2 separate regions of the Homo sapiens genome follow, and region 1 is linked to region 2. Evidence: promoter capture Hi-C in human tissues and cell types (Jung and others, 2019). All regions are on one chromosome and are shown on one strand. Each heading gives the region's core, a stretch centred on a gene start or on the middle of the fragment in contact. The rest is flanking DNA. Distances are from core to core; before and after follow the strand shown. Region 1 has its middle 36 kb from the start of CEBPA. Region 2 holds the start of SLC7A10 (solute carrier family 7 member 10).

Evidence for each region. Contacts are between HindIII fragments. The study calls those that stand out against the background at their distance.
Region 1: a contact is called between a fragment that was not itself captured here and the fragment with the promoter of SLC7A10 in region 2, in 1 of the 25 tissues and cell types used here (spleen).

What each region holds. Positions count from the first base shown.
Region 1 is chr19:33,263,713-33,269,828 of GRCh38, forward strand. No RefSeq gene overlaps it. Among named protein-coding and RNA genes, the nearest start is that of CEBPA, 36 kb to the right of the region's middle. The HindIII fragment of the contact is 4,860 bases long and covers 308-5,167 here.
Region 2 is chr19:33,222,637-33,228,754 of GRCh38, forward strand. SLC7A10 (solute carrier family 7 member 10) reads right to left here and starts at 3,214. Exons shown (of 11, transcript NM_019849.3): 1 at 2,917-3,214. The coding sequence starts at 3,067. The HindIII fragment of the contact is 48,714 bases long and covers 1-6,118 here.

The sequences.
Region 1 (6,116 bases), core at 1,488-3,987, 41 kb after region 2:
GAGCTCCTGGCAGGCGTTTGTACAGGCTCACGTGCACACGTGTGCACACACAGCATGTACACCTCCTGGCCCTTGACACCTGAGCCGTCGCCAGGCCTTGCCTGTCACCCTTCCATTGCCTCTGCATGCCCGCACCTGTCCACGTCTTCCCCTGCCGCCCCACGTCCCCAGCCACCATCTCTCTTCATGGGATGGCAGCTCTGGCCTCATCCAGGCTCTTAGCCAACAGAGTGGCCATATTATTATTATTATTTTATTTTATTTTATTTTTTTGAGATGGAGTCTTGCTCTGTCGCCCAGGCTGGAGTGCAGTGGTGCAGTGTCAGCTCACTGCAAGCTCCGCCTCCCAGGTTCACGCCATTCTCCTGCCTCAGCCTCCCGAGTAGCTGGGACTACAGGTGCCCGCCACCACCCCCGGCTAATTTTTTGTATTTTTAGTGGAGATGGGGTTTCACTGTGTTAGCCGGGATGGTCTCGATCTCCTGACCTCGTGATCTGCCCGCCTTGGCCTCCCAAAGTGCTGGGATTACAGGCGTGAGCCACCGTGCCCGGCCCAGAATGGTCGTATTATTAAATGACCACATGATCGGGCTGCTTTCCGAACTTCACCTTCCCACGGTTCTAGGAAGCAGCCACCATTATCATGGTGGCCTCCAGGCTTGCGTGTCTAGCTCCTGTCCTTCCTGCCCTCACCTCCCACACCCCTTGGCTTCCTAGCACCTGCAGTTCTGCCTCGACCCCTCCTCAGTGCCCCGGCTTTTGCAAATGCTCTCCCCTCTGCCTGGAAAACTCTCCTCCCCATGACAACTCCCATGCCTCCTATGGCACTCGGCTTTCCTGTCCTTCATGAAAGCATCCAGGGTCCCCGAGTGCCAAGCTGCAGCAGGTCCCTTGTCTCGGGGCTTCCACCCTCGAGGCGTGAGCTCCCCCTGTCACCATCCTGCCTAGGGATTATGGGTGTAATTCCTACTTCCTGCTCACCTCCTGCCAGACTGTGGGCCTGATGGGGCAGGGACCGAGCCCTCCAGTCTGTCTAGGGCCTGGCCGCACCAGGCAGTGATTGAATGAACAGATCCATAAACACACCGAGAGACACGGATGTACCCAGGCCCATGCACAGACACACAAATGCAGTCACCAGCCATGCACGGAAACTCACATTGACAGACGCTCAACCTCACAAACGTGCAAACCAAAGTTACCTAGAGACGCACGCAGTGACCAAGACACACACACGCCCACTGTCTTCTGTCTATGCTCTGGGCTCACTGCCTCTCATCCAGCCCTGCCCCTCGGGCAGGATCCCCTGCGGGTGTGGGCCTCCTGCACTGCAGCCCTGGCCTTAGCTCCAGGGGGCCAATCCCATGTTATGGGCCCCCAGCAGGATTCTCTGGGCCCCAGCCGTGGTCTTGCCACGTGACTACTTACAAGTGGCTTTTATGCTAAATGCACATAATAGCACATTGGCATAATATCATTGCCAATACTCACAGGTACCATGGTTCACACAGGGAGCATGGTGTGAAGCTCCTCTTACAGGGCTTGTTAGAGGAAAGTTCCAGCTCAGGCAAAGGCTTGGGGTGGAGCGGACAAAGCTACAGTTTGGCCTTTTCCTCAGCAGCGTCCTGCTTCTAGAATCACCACTAAAGTTAACCCAGGCGAGGGGTTCTCTCCCAGCCTCCAGGAGGCTCCAGCTGGAGGCAAACCGCCGGTCTGGGAGAGGTACAGTGGCCAGGGAGAGGAAGGGTTTCAGGGTGGTGTGGGTGGTAGGGGCTGAAGGCAGGGGCAGCAGGGCAGGGCCTGGAGGCCAGCAGCACAGAGGGTCCCCACCTGGCTTCATTTTGGGGGAGGGGGCTGGGCAGGGTATCTGGCGGAGGAAGCAAGAAGGGGTGGCCTCAGAGACTGGCTTGCGGAGATGGGGCTGCATTCCCTGTGGAAGGGAGTGGGCCTTCACGGCTTCAAGGCCGTTTGTCACCTAAAGCAGCTACGGGCATCTTCTCTCTTCCCTCTTTCTTTTTAGAGACAGTGTCTCACTCTGTCTCCCAGGCTGGAGTGCTGGGGTGCGATCATAGCTCACCGCAGCTGCAAACTGCCGGGCTCAAGTGATCCTCCCACCTCAGCCTCCTGAGTAGCTGAGACTACAGGTGGGCACCACCATGCCCAGCCAATTTCTGTATTTTTTGTAGAGATGGCTGTGTTGCCCAGGCTAGTCTCAAAGTCCTGGCCTTAAGCAATTCTCCTGCCTCAGCCTCTTAAAGCACTGGTATTAGAAGAGTGAGCCATGGCGCCCTGCCTCTCTTAAAGATGGCTTTAACCATCACTTACAGCACAGCTGCATCCCTCCTTGGCGGGGTGGGGGAGATTCTTTCCCACCTCTCTGAGTGTCCCCATCTGGGTCCTTGCTCAGTGAGAGCCAGACTTTCTGCTATAACCAGGCCCTGAATGAGAGAGAACCAGAGTCATGTGCTGTGCACCAAATGCAGTGGGAAGACACGAGGGATGCCTCGGTGACCTTCTTTTCAAACAGGAGTCTTTCCCTGGTAACCTGCCTCTGACCTTCCATCAGCCAGATGTTATCTTCCCAAGGCAACAGTGTTCCAGAATTCTTTCTGAGGTGGCCCTGGCAGCTTCTGGGTCCTTCTATTCTGATTTCCAGTTTTCTTTTTCCATTTATTTATTTATTTATTTATTTATTTATTTATTTATTAATTATAGGGTCTTGCTTTGTTGCCCAGGCTGGAGTGCAGTGGCACGAACACAGCTCACTGCAGCCTCAAACTCCTGGGCTCCAGTGATCCTCCCGCCCCAGCCTCCTGTGTAGCTGGGACTACGGGCATGCACCACCATGCCTGGCTAACTTTTTATAGAGATGGGGTCTCACTATGTTGCCCAAGCTGGTCTCAAACTAGCAGACTCAGTGATTCTCCTGCCTCAGCTTTCTGAGTAGCTGGGACCACAGGTGAGCACCATTATGCCTGGCTAATTTTTTATAGAGATAGGGTCTCACTATGTTGCCCAAGCTGGCCTCAGACTAGTGGGATCAAGTGATCCTCCCACCTCAGCCTCCTGAGTAGCTGGAATTACAGGCATGTGTCACCATACTGGGCTAGTATTTGTATTTTTTGTAGAGACAGGGTCTTGCTATGTTGCCCACGTTGTGCTTGAACTCCTGGGCTCAAGCGATCCTCCCACCTTGGCCTCCCAAAGTGTTGGGATTACAGGCGTGAGCCACTGCACCCGGCTCCAGGTGCAGTGGAGCCGGCCCAGGCCTCACCCTTTCTCCAGACCTCACATTCCCAGGCTCGTTGAAGGGAGCAGGGTGCTTCAGGCAAACTTGGGGCTCGGGTCTCCAGGCACTTGGGGTTTTCTCCTCCCCCGGCGCTGGCAGCTGGCCTGGCTTCTCTCGGCTGGAGATGCTGAAGACTCCTCGGCTGGTCTGAGAAGCATGAGAACAGAGCTGGGAAAACTGGCCGTTTTTGTGGTTTGGGGGTTTGATGCAAGTTTCACAACTGATCTCCCAAGAACACGGTCGGTCCGGTCAGATGCGCTCCCTGGCCAGGGGCCTGCTTCCCTGCTGACGCCGGTGCTGACCGCCCGAGGCGGGGGCTCCACTCGCCCTCCCCACCCCATTCCCCGCTTTCCTTCTTTAGGGAACAGCCTGGAGGTGTGGAGAAGATGGCTTTGTTTTGGGGGCTTTCGTGGTTTCCACCTCATCCTTCAGCCTGGGGAGAGCTGACGGCCTGGTACCCCTCACTCTCATCCTGGAGTTTTTCTCAGACACCTCTGGGCAGCTGTTCTTAAAGCTTTCATTTTGAGGGGACAGTGGGCCAAGGACGTCTTTTGTAGTGATAATCTTGGGCCGGGGCTGATGAGTGGGAAGTCTTAGAAAGACCTGCTCTAGGGCTCCGGGAGAGATGAGGGCCGCCAGGGAGGCACACACCTCCGTAGCCAGCCCACTCCAGGAACCCAGAGCTGCCTCCCCGGCAGACAGCTGGGCTGGGGAGGGGGTCCTCAAGACCTGGCCCTGCCTCCAAGTAGCCTGGCCCCCGGACCTATCCTTCCACCCTGGGAAGTCCCGAGCTGCCTCAGGCCAGCTGGGGCAGAACTGAAATTGGTGACATGTGCCTCTCTGGTCCCTTGACTCCCGCCCCCGCTCCCTCACCCCCAGAGTCTTCCTGAAGGAGCCTCCAGACCCAGCGAGGAGCCACAGGCAATGCCCACCCTGAGTGGGAGCTGCTGTCCTGCCTTCCACGTGGCCCCAGCCTAGCTCGCCCTTGCGTGAACTGGGAGCTGCCCCACTTCCGGAGGTTGGTGCGTGGTTCTAGATCCTGTCGTCCCTCCGCTTGGGGGCACAACGGGCTGGGACCCATGCACGTTTCTCAGACACTCCATCTCTCATCTCACAGAGCAGGAGGGGTCTGCAAAGGGCAGGCTGGTCAGGACACAGTGTGAGGCAGGGGGCCCCGGGGAACAGAGTCCAGGCTCCACCTCTGCTGAGCAGGCAGTCCTGAGTGTTGTTACCAAGTTTGGGTGAGGGCCTGGGACCCTGTCACATCACAGCTGGGGAAACGGCCAGGGCTGGGACTCAGTGGCGAACAGCAGAACCCAACAGGCGGCCGCACAGACTCACGACCAGGGGGCTCGGTCAGAGGTGGGGACAGAGGGTGACCTGGACTTGCTGAGTCAAGGAGTCAGGCCAGCGCTGCGGAGAATCCCACAGGGCTACGCTTGGGGGCCAAGGAGAGGCACGTGGCCAGGCACATCTGGGTGGACAGAGGGGTTCCAGCCACTCACAGAGCCCTCTCAGTCAGAGCCAGATAAGCCTGGGCAACTGAGCCACTCAGGCAGGGAGCGGGCGGGCATCTGAGGTCCCCAGGGAGTCTGCCCTCCTGGTGGGCACAGCTGGGCCCAGATGAGGCCCACAGCATTGGGACTGGGCAGAGACACCCAGACATGGCTGCTGCTGTGGGCCCCAGGAAGGCCCCATATTTGGGGTGCATCTGCCGGGTGCCTGCGTCCCCTTCCCGTTCCCTATCCCTGTGCCCCCCTCCCAGCTTCCTGTTTCTGTTTTGGGGCTGCAGGAACTTCCTCTTCTCATCACGGACCAAAATGGCTTCTTGGTCTCAGCTGAAGGCCTGGCGGGGGGCTGGTCACCCCAGCCTGAAGGACAGCCACAGAGCGAGGGGGGCTCCGAGCCTCTGGGGGCGGTGACATCTGCCAAAGGGTGAACTGTGGCCCTTTCCCAAGAGACTCCCACAGCTCCTCCGATGGAGCCTGTCATGTGAGCACCTGCCCAGGCCACGGAGGGCCTGGGTCCTGCTGGAGTGACCCTAAACGGCCCCCTTGTGCCCTTCCCGCCTCACGCAAGGGACCCAAAATATGGATTGCCTGGTCTCCCCTTCCTCCTGCTCCCTCCCAGGCACATGGTGCAGACACTTACGGGCACCGTGTTGGCCTATGTGTGTGGATGAGCAAATACACACACACGGGGTAGGGGGGTGCCCTGAGCCTGTGACCCCCTGAGCCGGTGACCCCTGCCTGCCAGGGAGCAGAGCTGCAGATTCCTGGATGCCGAGGGAATAGAAGGCCTGGCCCGGCCTGGGCAGTACATGGTGAGGGTGTGTGTGTGTGTGTGTGTGTGTGTGTGTGTGTCTGGGTGAGTGTGCCTCTACGCATGTCTAGGGGGCACCATCCTTTTCCTCCCACTCCCCCTGCCCCCTTCCCCTGAGCAGAGCTGCTCCCTTAAATAAAGCTGAGCTGTGCCCTTTGGAGCCCCTGGGCCCTCGAGGGAGTGCAGGGTGACAGAGTGGGCTCCCCTTACTCCTGGGACTCCTCACTCAGGGGGAGCCTGTGGTGGGTGTTGGGGGAGGGCGTAGGAGGTGGGCACACGCCAGGGAGGGCACACAGGATGGTGGCCCCTGATCCCCTGGAGTTGTGATGCCCACAGGAGGGGTGCTTTACCAGGCTTGGGCACCCCAGGAACATCCTGGCCTTGGGATGGGGTGTGGGGGTAAATGGGGGACGGTGCTGAGAGGCCGAGCCCCGGTCTACCTCCCTGCCCATCCAGGGGTCCCGGGATGGAGTTGAGGAGCCAGATGCATCCTCTGGGGGGTTGT
Region 2 (6,118 bases), core at 1,964-4,463:
GAGATTCAAATGAGATAAAGGAAGAACATGTTTTCATAAGGCAGTAAGAGGTGTTTTTCTGAACAGATATTGGATGTGATGATGTCCTGCAGAGCCCCTGCCCCAGCCAGTTCTATTTCCTCCAGCCTGGCCGATTCCCTTCCATCTGTGCTTGCAGTGGCCGGCGGGCACTGCCCTAAACACACTATACATGAGTCTCACGCCAGCCCATAGCCCACCCTTCCAGGTCTTCCCATTCTCAAAAGCCTCAATTCCCAGTCTGAGCTGGAGCAGAGGGTATACACGAGGGAGAGAGTGACAGGATCTCCTAGGAGGGTCGCTGTGGAAGTTTTGGAAATAACATGTTCAATAACAATAACAAACCAAGGTAGATTATGAAGCAGGACGTTGGCTGGGCAGGGTGGCTCACACCTGTAATCCCAGCACTTTGGGAGGCCAAGGCAGGCAGATCACTTGAGGTTAGGAGTTCGAGACCAGCCTGGCCAACATGGTGAAACTCTGTCTCTACTGAAAATACAAAAATTAGCTGGACATGGTGGTGTGTGCCTGTAATCCTAGCTACTTGGGAGGCTGACGCAGGAGAATTACTTGAACCCCGGAGGTGGAGGTTGCAATGAGCTGAGATTGTGCCACTGCACTCCAGCCTAGGGGACACAGCCAGACTCTGTCTCAGAAAAAAAAAAAAAAAAAAAGAAAGAAAAAGAAAGGAAAGGAAAGGAAGCAGGACGTCAAGTTCTTGACTTTTAGAGCTAAAATATGACACTTTGCAGACATTTTTGATTCTGACCAGGCTCCCCAGGGTATTGGTGGAGAGAGAGTGAGCCCACCTGGGGCAGAAAGGTGGGGTGGGCTGGGGAGGGGAGACCCTTAGTACATCAGGTGGGGAAGGCAGTGCAGACCCCAGCTCAGTCCTCACCTGCCCAGTCCCCACCTCCTATCACCTTCTGGTTGAGGTTGATCTCCTTGTTTTTTCCTGCCTCGTCCAGCCTCCTGCCTGCTGTAATCCTCAAAGGCTCCCCGGGCCAGGCCAAGATCAAGGCTCCCCAAGACCACCACTGAGTGCCCCGGGCTTGGGTTCTGTAGCTGAATCCAGCATCCTTGGTTAGCTAAGTGGCCCTTCACCCTGGCTCAGTGTTCAAGGTTTGGAGGCCAAGGTAGTGGACCTGGCACAGCAGGAAGGAACTGAAGGGTAGGGGAGCTGTCAGGGCAGACCTGGGCTGCATGGGAAACTTACAGAGTCTGTCCTGGAAAAGGAGGGTGATAGTGGAGTTGGCCTTCTCCACTCCCACCACCACCACCTCTACCATCACCACCACCACCACCACCACCACCACCACCACCACCACCACCACCAGGGCCCCTTTCTGGGGAGAAAGGAGCCAGGCAGCCTCCCTGTGGCCTGGGGAGGATGGGATGTGGGGAGGGGATAGAGTAGGAAGACAGGTCAAGGATGCTGGGCTTAGCTGAGGAGCCCAGGCAGAGCTGTGTCTTTCTGCACCTGCCTGGCACTGTAGCTGGTTCTAGGCATGGTCTCAATCCTATGACCCACTCATGGTGTGAGCTTCCCCTTCCCTGGAGGACAGTTCCTGGAGAGGGTGTGGGCCAAGAAAAAGCTCTAACCAGCACCCTGGCCAAATCCCTGGAACCAGCCCTTCCTTCCAGCAGACCGTCCATCAGGCAGGGGCATCCTAGGCCAAGAAGCTCCCAGGGCCAGGTCAGGACCAGGCTCTGGGAGACAGCATTCTAAGGGGAGGGGGTGAGATGGCGGAGTGACCTGGCCAGGGGCTGTGTTCAGGGGCAACTCTGGATGTGAAGAGCTGCTAATGTGGGGGTGGGAGAGGACGAGGTGAAGACCCTGGGTCTGCCCTACTGAGCCCCCAAACTTTCTCCATCTCCAGGGGTCTGAGGGTGGGAAGGCAGTGAAGACACAAGTGGCTCTCACTGGCAGGGGACCGGGAAGACTGGCTGGCGGTAAGGTGAGAACAGTCGAGGCCCCAGTCACTCACCCCCCAAACCACTTCTCCTGTCCCTCCCTGGAGGGGCTCAGAGGCACTCTGTGTAGACAAAGAAACAAGTCAGTATCCATGACTTGGGACAGAGAGTGGAAAAATACCACTGCCATTCCCATGACCTCTGAGCTCTCTGCCTGCCCAGAAACCCCTATGTGGGGGCAGGACATGGACCCATTCTCAGGTGGGGACTTTGGAGTCCAGGGCCTCCAGACCAGGCGAGTGTCCAGTGCCCACCAGGATCCCAGCTCAGGGAGCAGCTGGCCTTCTGCAGGCTGGGTCTGCCCACTGCTGCCCCCAATTGCTGGCTAACCCGCCCCCTCTCCTGGGTCCTGCTGCCAAACCCTGCAGTCATTGCCTGCTCTGAACCTCCGTCCCTTCTGCGCAGGCTGCGCTTGCTCACTCTGCTCATAGGCCCTCCTGCTTTCCAAGAATAAAGTCACTGCACTGCGTGGCACCTGGACCCTGCACACAGTAGGTACTCAGACTGACCCACAGTACAGAACTTGGGGAGCTCAGCCTGCCGCAGCCTGACCAGCCCCTACACTGGTCAAGTTCCTGCGCTAATCGCAGGACTGCAGTCATGGCCATTTCACAGATGAGGAAACTGAGGGTAACTGCCTTGCAAAAGCCCCGCAGCAAAATCGAGTCAGGAGGAAGAGTCCAGCGGTGGAGGGGACCCAAAACTCCCCCAGGTGCAGGCGGCCGGGAGGTGGGAACACGGAGCTTTGGCACCCTGGGCCAGCAGCCCCTGACCTCCCCGCGGTCATAGCGCTCTCTGAGGCCAGACTGCAGGTTCCCCAGGCAGACCCGTCCGAGCGCCCGGAGAGGGGACGCCCCTCGTTCGGAGCGGCTGCGCCCCTCATTCGGCCTCCGCCCGGCGCCCGCCCGCCTGGGTCCCGCTCACCGATGATGATGGTGCAGGCGCTCAGCAGCCCGATCTCCTTCTTGAGCGCCACCCGCTCCGAGGCGCCGGGGACGGTCCCTGGGACTGGGGAGGGCGAGGGCGCAGGCCTGGGGTTCCCGCGCCCGCTCGGCTGCTGCGTGTGGCCGGCCATGTCGCTGTCCCGCCGCGTCCCCGCTCCCTGCGCTGCCCCGTCTGTCCGGCCGGCCGCCCGTCGGTCCGTCGGTCCGTGAGCTCACGGCCCTCGCAGCCGGGACAGCGCCCACAGGCGGGCGCATGCGCTGGCTCCGGGCCCGGGACTGGGGGCCCCGGGCGGCGGGGGCCCGGGAGGGGCGGAAGGAGGGCCGGCCCACAGCCCCCTCCCCCACCTCCCTTAAAGGGAACGCCCCCTCCCCCAGTCCCGGCCTGGGAAGGAAGGAGAGGACTTGGGGCAGATCTAGGAAGGACTTCCCAGTTGGGCGAAGGAAGGGACCCTCCAGTTGCCTGAGTTACATCCATTCTTGGGGCCGGGTTGGGGAGCAGAGCTCCGAGACAAGACAATCCCTGCTCTCAGGGAGGCCGAGGGGGACGGCAAGAATAACAGCTGGCCGCGTGTGGGGATGCAGTGTGTGCTCCCTTTAGTACTCTATGCCTGCACGATGTGTGTGTGTGTGTGTGTGTGTGTGTGTGTGTGTGTGTGTGTGTAGGAGACAGCTCCCAGGGTGAGTCCATTCTACAGGTGGAAGTTGAAGCCCAGAGATCAGTAGCGATCGCCGAGCAAGTGCAGGGCTGAGACCAAACCCTTTCTCGTGCCTCCTGAGGCTCCCAGGCGGACAACCTCAGGAGGGGTGGGGGTTGAGGTCTGGAACTCCTCTGAGGGGTCTGGGTGTCCTATGCACCCTGGATCAAAGGCCTGAGGGTCGAGGTGAAGATCCCGGGGGCTCTCATCCTCATCACGGGGACCCAAGACCTGTGACGAGTCCTGGACACGGCTCGCCCACCCTACCAGGCTCTGGGCCACCTCTGGCCTGAGATCTTCACTACAGGCTCCTCGTCCCAGGTCAGAGTGAGGGCTCAGCGGACTAGAACTCGGGTCTCTGGTGCAGGTCCCGCGCGATCCAGCCCGGCTCAAGAAGGCCAGGCGACCTGGAATGCCCGGGAGACACGGAGAAGGAGGCTGTGGTCGCGGGAGAGGGTCGGGAGTGCGGGGATCCGAGGGAGGCTGCCTCCTCCCGGAAGCCGTCCGGACTGTGCAGCCGAGGCCGGCGGAAAAGATCCAGGGGGGCCGCGTCGGGGCCACCGGGGCGGCGGGCGGGGCGAGCCTGGCACTGTGCGGCCGGCGGCGGAACAGCCTTTGTTTCTTCCTGGCGGCCGCCGCGACGCGCCGTCCCCTGCATGTGGATGAGGCCTCGCCGGGCGCCCCGTCCTTCCCCCCAGTGGCGGCCTCCGGGTTTGCTGGGGCCCTGCCAGGGGTCCGACGGCTGCAGGGTGGACCGGGGTGGGACGGGGCGGGGGCGGGTCCCTGGCAGGGGCGGGTCCCTGGCAGCGGCAGGGCCTGGAGGTGGGAGCGGGGCGGGGCCGGCGTTTGCAGGCACACAGGAGCTTCGAAGTTGGGGGCGGGGACTTGGGGTAGGAGTAGGAGCGGGAGGATCCAGGGTGGACGTGCTGGTGGGACGCCGAGGGGGAGGCCACCCGGCGAAGCTGCATCCCTCTCGCTTCTGTCGTCGGAGACCGGCATTCTTGGCGCCCTCCACCTCCAGCCCCAGAGACCATTCAGAGGCCGACTCTCTTAAAGGAGCCTCGCGCAGGGTAGGGGCAGCCCTGGCTCCGGAGACCCCTGATTGTCGCGGGTGTTAGGGGCCAGAGGCCTCGACCTTCTGGTTTGACTCTCCCCAGCCCCCCAGTTGCCCTCGCAATTCTAGGGTCTGCTGGGAGAGGGTCTAGCCAGGGCTGGTGCAATCAGGGGCAGCTTGCCAAGGGGCAGGGGCTGGCGCAAGCCTCGCAGCTCTGAAGCCTGTGGTTTTCGAGGGTGTCTCTCTGGGACCTGGAATGTGGAGTATGCGTTTGTGGGGGAAAGGTCGGCCTAGGGCTTTGCACAGGATGGAGTTTGTATGTTGTCAGCCAGGCCCCATAGCTCAGGAGGTCCTTTTCGTGGAATTGAACTAGAACCTGCAAATTTCAATGGGAACAAAAGGTTAGTAGGATTGGTTTACCATCCAAAAACCAATCAGCATGATTCTCCACATTAATAGAGAGAAAAAAGGAAAACCTCAACAGATGCAAAAAACAGTCATCCGTGATGTAAACAAACAACTCTTAGCAAATAGAAACAGAAGAGAACCTCCTTAATCTGATAAAAGTATCTACCTAAAAACAAATCTCCAAGAAACCAAGAAACAAACAAAAACCCTACAGCTGACATCATGTTTAGTGGTGAAAGTGTGAATGCTTTTCTACTGAGATTGAAAATGAGAAGGGATGTTGGCACTTGTCAATATTCTATACAATAGTGTACTGGAGGTCCTAGCCAGAGCAATAAGACAAGAAAAATAAGTAAAAAGGTATGAAGATAGTAAAGGGAAAGATAAAGCTGCCATTCACATATGATGTGATTCAGTATGTAGAAAAAAAATTACAGGTTAATTTAAGGAAGATAAGTTCATTTAGCAAAGTCGCTAGACAGAAGTTTAATATACAGAAACTAATTGTATTCTATATACTAGAAATAATTAGAAAATGAAATTAATAATAGCATAAAATCAAATACCTAAAAATAATTCTAGTGAATGATGTGTACAATTTTTATGCAAGAAACTACAAAACATTTCTGAGAGAAATTGTTAAAGACATAAGCTAATGGAGGGATATACCATGTTCATGGATTGGAATTTAAAATGTTGGTCTCCACATTGATTTATAGAATTGATAAATACATCCAATGTAATTTTGATCAAAGCACCAGACAACTTTGTTGTTGATTACAAGGCTTTTTTGGAGGGATGAAACTCAACAAGCTGATTCTAAAGAGTATGTGAAGAAGAACAAATCTGGAGGACTTATACTACAGTAAGGAAGACAGTGTGGCATTGATGCAAAGATAAACAAATCTACTGGTGGAAGAAAACAGAAATCCAGAAACAGACCCATCCTGGTTTATTATGACAAAGTTGATATTGCAGAACAGTGGAGAAAGGACGGGCTTTTCAATAAGTGGTGGTGGATCTAT